Linked DNA regions of Homo sapiens: region 2 is linked to region 1. Evidence: promoter capture Hi-C in human tissues and cell types (Jung and others, 2019). All regions are on one chromosome and are shown on one strand. Each heading gives the region's core, a stretch centred on a gene start or on the middle of the fragment in contact. The rest is flanking DNA. Distances are from core to core; before and after follow the strand shown. Region 1 holds the start of PRKAG3 (protein kinase AMP-activated non-catalytic subunit gamma 3). Region 2 has its middle 14 kb from the start of CYP27A1.

What was found. Contacts are between HindIII fragments. The study calls those that stand out against the background at their distance.
Region 2: a fragment that was not itself captured here is called in contact with the fragment with the promoter of PRKAG3 in region 1 in 3 of the 25 tissues and cell types used here (H1 embryonic stem cells, aorta and bladder).

Annotation. Positions count from the first base shown.
Region 1 is chr2:218,830,502-218,833,201 of GRCh38, forward strand. PRKAG3 (protein kinase AMP-activated non-catalytic subunit gamma 3) reads right to left here and starts at 1,302. Exons shown (of 14, transcript NM_017431.4): 1 at 1,237-1,302; 2 at 835-874; 3 at 245-400. The coding sequence starts at 1,269. The HindIII fragment of the contact is 8,490 bases long and covers 1-2,700 here.
Region 2 is chr2:218,767,182-218,769,881 of GRCh38, forward strand. No RefSeq gene overlaps it. Among named protein-coding and RNA genes, the nearest start is that of CYP27A1, 14 kb to the right of the region's middle. The HindIII fragment of the contact is 7,453 bases long and covers 1-2,700 here.

The DNA of each region.
Region 1 (2,700 bases), core at 52-2,551:
GGTGAGGGGCTGACCTGAGAGTCGCCCCAGGTAGTGGCTCTGTCCCATCTTTCTGAGTTGGCCATGCTGGCCTCTGGCACTGCAGTGCCTTGTTCTCTACTATGTAGGGAGACTGAGGCCACAAGATGAAGGTTGGGTCCAACTCTGTGTTATGGAGGGACCTGAGGTAGAGACCAGACCCAGGCTCCTCTGGGATTTCCCACTCCCCTGGCTCCCACCTCCCCAGAACTGGCCTTGGCCTCACCTTCCCCCTGACCTGGTGGCTCCCCTTCCTCCACCGACTTCTGCCTTGTCCATCTCAAGGCTTTGGCCCTCCGTTTCCCACGGATTCTTTCTGAGCTGCTGGTCACAGCTGGTGATGGCCATGAGCTGCTGTTTTCTTGCTCTAGGAAGCTCATCTCTGGAAGGGGAATGGGGCCTGTTTGGTTAATAGGGAGTAATGCATCAAAATCAATTCAAATGTTATTCATAATCTTTAGGATTTGCAAGCTTCCAATGGGCTTTTCTCCAACATATTTCTCATTTAAAACTTACAGCAGCCTTATAAAGCAGGCATTATTATCATCCCTATTTTGCTAGTGAGGGACCAGAAATTCAGAGAGGTTAAGCAATTTGCTGCAAATCACACAGCAAGTAAGTGGGAAAGTCACTTCTGAAAAGAGGAAATTGGAGGTGAGGGAAACACACCTGGGGAAAGGAGGAAGAACAATGAGGAAGAAAGACCAAAAGGAGGAAGATAAAAGCCAGGCTGGGAGGGAATTGGGGTCCCAGAAAAGTGGGGGACAAGGAGGTGGGGGAAGAGGTTAGGCCCCAGGGAGGGGGCATTCTCCCTACCTTGATGCTCAGAACCCCCAAGGCTGCTCCAGGAAGGGGTCTGTGGGGAGAAGAGTTTCTGAAGGAGTGGGGAAAGTGCCTTACATTCCCAAACCCCTTCTCCCTGAACACACGCCTACACACCCATGCACACCAATACACACGCTCAGACACACGCCATACACAGACATGCAGCCATACACAAACACACACAGAAACACACACATCCAAACACTCCCAGGCACACAGAACCACACACACTCACAATACATATGCCCAAACATGCACATGCCCATATTCACGAGAAAATCCAGACCAAACACACACCAGAAGACACACACGCCCACACACACATTCACAGCCCGTGCGCTCAATCTTCTGGCCTCAGCTGCCCCGGCTCCGGCTCCCCTGGGACCCCCATACCCTGCGCAGTGCGTGCTCCAGCCCGGGCTCCATGTGGCCAGCCCCAGACCAACTGAGAGCAAGTGTGCGACACTGTGGCTGGGCTGCACTATTCTGGGCCCGGCCCCGGGCACCCTGCCCTGCCAGGATCGGTTTCTCTCTGATTGGGTGTCAGGCAATGAGAGGGAGGGGCCCCCATTTGCTCAGCTGCTACAGCCCTGAAGGCTGGGGGTTGCTGGGAGGGAAGGGGCGCACCGGATAATCTGGGTACTTGGTCCTCAGCTGCCTCCTGGGTCACTGAGGACAAGCTAGAGGGACCCTTTTTGAGGGGATGTGGCTTGGAGCATGTGGGAACATGGTCATTGAGCAGAGTTGGGCTCTCAGAGTCCTGAGCCCCTATTCCAAGAGCCTCCCTCATCTTTATCAGGCACCAAAGAAGGGAACATGGAGGCAGATCAGCATAACTTTCTTCCTTGTTCTAATTTCAGTAGAGGGTGGTGCTGGAGTTAGAAAGGGCAAGTTGCAGCCAGCTCAGAGGCTGGAGATGAGGCAAGGGGTTTGTGGGTAGTCCAGGAGAGCAGCTAGTGTATGTCCAGATGTCCAGATTTGAGTCCCTGGAGTGTGTCCCTCTCTCAGGTGAAGGAGATGGAGTGGGTGTTTCAGGCAGGTGAAGAGCTGTGAGAATCACCTCGAAGGCGTGGGGAGCACTCAGAGCTCCCCGCAGGGGAAGAGACATCTGTTTCCACCTGTGGTTGGGAGATATGCCTGGGTGTGCAGGTGTCCCAGCCCCCAACCCTCTGTGAGTGCTGTGCCTACATCCCTGGTGCCAACAGGATCCCAGCCTGGCTCCAGTAGCTGCCACCCTCTTCCTTGGCATTCCCGGAGCCTGAGTCAATGTCCGGATTGGGAATGCTGACCCAGCTGCTCCGGCTTTCCTCTCTCTGCCCCTCCCTTTCTCTCCTCCTTCCAGCCTCTTCCATCCCAGCCCTGGCCCTGGAGTGGACACTCAACAACAGACTGGTGAATTTCTGTCTGAGTTTATTACATGTGTTTTCCATCAACCCTCAATGTTCCTACTCTGCCAATGGGGAGGGTGGAGGAGAATGGAGTTGGGAGGACAGCCTTGGCCAGGGCTGTTCCTGTGGTCCCCAGCCTTTCTCAAGGACATCTGCTCACTGGACAGTGGGAACTGGCTCAGAGGACAGAGATCAGTGTAAGAGAATTTCCTTCACACCAAGCATGTTTTTTCAAATGGACTCAAGATAGCCACCACCAGTTTGAGAGAAAGGAGAGTAGGAAGAACACCAAGTCCAGAGTGTTCAAGCATAAAAATAAGGTCTACATGAGGCCATTGGCTGTGGTTACTCAAACATGGAGCCACTCAGAAGGCTTCTAAGATTGTGAGGGTGTTGTATTGGCAAAGAAACCATAAGCCTGATCAGCAAAGCCTGGTTTGACACCCCTTCCCTTGCCTTATTCCCAGCC
Region 2 (2,700 bases), core at 199-2,698, 63 kb before region 1:
TACCCAGTAATGGGATCGCTGGGTCAAATGGTATTTCTAGTTCTAGATCCTTAAGGAATCGCCACACTGTCTTCCACAATGGTTGAACTAATTTACAGTCCCACCAACAGTGGAAAAGTGTTCCTATTTCCCCACATCCTCTCCAGCATCTGTTGTTTCCTGACTTTTTAATGATCGCCATTCTAACTGGTGTGAGATGGTATCTCATTGTGGTTTTGATTTGCATTTCTCTGATGACTGTGATGATGAGCATTTATTCATGTGTCGGCTGCAGAAATGTCTTCTTTTGAGAAGTGTCTTTTCATATCCTTTGCCCACTTTTTGATGGGGTTTTTTTTTTCTTGTAAATTTGCTTAAGTTCTTTGTAGATTCTGGATATTAGCCCTTTGTCAGATGGGTAGATTACAAAAATTTTCTCCCATTTTGTAGGTTGCCTGTTCACTCTGATGGTAGTTTCTTTTGCTGTGCAGAAGCTCTTTAGTTTAATTATATCCCATTTGTCTATTTTGCCTTTTGTTGCCATTGCTTTTGGTGTTTTAGTCATGAAGTCCTTGCGCATGCCTATGTCCTGAATGGTATTGCCTAGGTTTTCTTCTAGGGTTTTAATGGTTTTAGGTCTAACATTTAAGTCTTTAATCCATCTTGAATTAATTTTTGTATAAGGTGTAAGGAAGGGATCCAGTTTCAGCTTTCTACATGTGGCTAAGCCTGTTTTCCCAGCACCATTTATTAAATAGGGAATCCTTTCCCCATTTCTTGTTTTTATCAGGTTTGTCAAAAATCAGATGGTTGTAGATGTGTGGTGTTATTTCTGAGGCCTCTGTTCTGTTCCATTGGTCTATATATCTGTTTTGGAACCAGTACCATGATGTTTTGGTTACTGTAGCCTTGTAGTATAGTTTGAAGTCAAGTAGCATGATGCCTCCAGCTTTGTTCTTTTTGCTTAGGATTGCCTTGGCAATGCGGGCTCTTTTTTGGTTCCATATGAACTTTAAAGTAGTTTTTTCCAATTCTGTGAAGAAAGTCATTGGTAGCTTGATGGGAATGGCATTAAGTCTATAAATTACCTTGGGCAGTATGGCCATTTTCATGATATTCTTCCTATCCATGATCATGGAATGTTCTTCCATTTGCTTGTGTCCTCTTTTATTTCCTTGAGCAGTGGTTTTTAGTTCTCCTTGAAGAGGTCCTTCACATCCCTTGTAAGTTGGATTCCTAGGTATTTTATTCTCTTTGAAGCAATTGTGAATGGGAGTTCACTCATGATTTGGCTCTCTGTTTGTCTGTTATTGGTATATAGGAATGCTTGTGACTTTTGCACATTGATTTTGTATCCTGAGACTTTGCTGAAGTTGCTTATCATCTTAAGGAGATTTTGGGCTGAGACAAGGGGTTTTCTATATATACAATCATGTCATCTGCAAACAGGGACAATTTGACTTCCTCTTTTCGTAATTGAATACCCCTTATTTCTTTCTCTTGTCTGATTGCCCTGGCCAGAACTTCCAACACTATGTTGAATAGGAGTGGTGAGAGAGGTCATCCCTGTCCTGTGCCAGTTTTCAAAGGAAATGCTTCCAGTTTTTGCCCATTCAAAATGACATTGGCATGGGTTTGTCATAAATAGCTCTTATTATTTTGAGATACGTTCCATCAGTACTTAGTTTATTGAGAGTTTTTAGTACAAAGGGCTGTTGAATTTTGTCAAAGGCCTTTTCTGCATCTGTTGAGATAATCATGTGGTTTTTGTCTTTGGTTCTGTTTATGCGATGGATTATGTTTATTGATTTGTGTATGTTGAACCAGCCTTGCATCCCAGGATGAAGCAGGCTTGATTATGGTGGATAAGCTTTTTGATGTGCTGCTGGATTCATTTTGCCAGTATTTTATTGAGGATTTTTGCATCGACGCTCACCAGGGATATTGGTCTAAAATTCTCTTTTTTTGTTGTGTCTCTGCCAGGCTTTGGTATCAGGATGATGTTGGCCTCATAAAATGAGTTAGGGAGGAGTCCCTCTTTTTCTATTGATTGGAATGGTTTCAGAAGGAATGGTACCAGCTCCTCTTTGTACCTCTGGTAGAATTTGGCTGTAAATCCATCTGGCCCTGGACTTTTTTTGGTTGGTAGGCTATTAATTATTGCCTCAATTTCAGAGCCTGTTATTGGTCTATTCAGAGATTTAACTTTTTCCTGGTTTAGTCTTGGGAGGGTGTATGTGTCCAGGAATTTATCCATTTCTTTTAGATTTTCTAGTTTATTTGCGTAGAGGAATTTATAGTATTCTCTGATGGTAGTTTGTATTTCTGTGGGATCGGTGTTGATATCCCCTTTATCATTTTTTATTGCACCTGTTTGATTCCTCTCTCTTTTTTTCTTTATTAGTCTTGCTAGCGGTCTATCAATTTTGTTGATTCTTTCAAAAAACCAGCTCCTGGATTCATTGATTTTTTGAAGGGTTTTTTGTGTCTCTATCTCCTTCAGTTCTGCTCTGATCTTAGTGATTTCTTGCCTTCTGCTAGCTTTTGAATGTGTTTGCTCTTGCTTCCCTAGTTCGTTTAATTGTGATGTTAAGATGTTGATTTTAGATCTTTCCTGCTTTCTCTTGTGGGCATTTAGTGCTATAAATTTCCCTCCACACACTGCTTTAAATGTGTCCGAGAGATTCTTGTACATTGTGTCTTTGTTCTCATTGGTTTCAA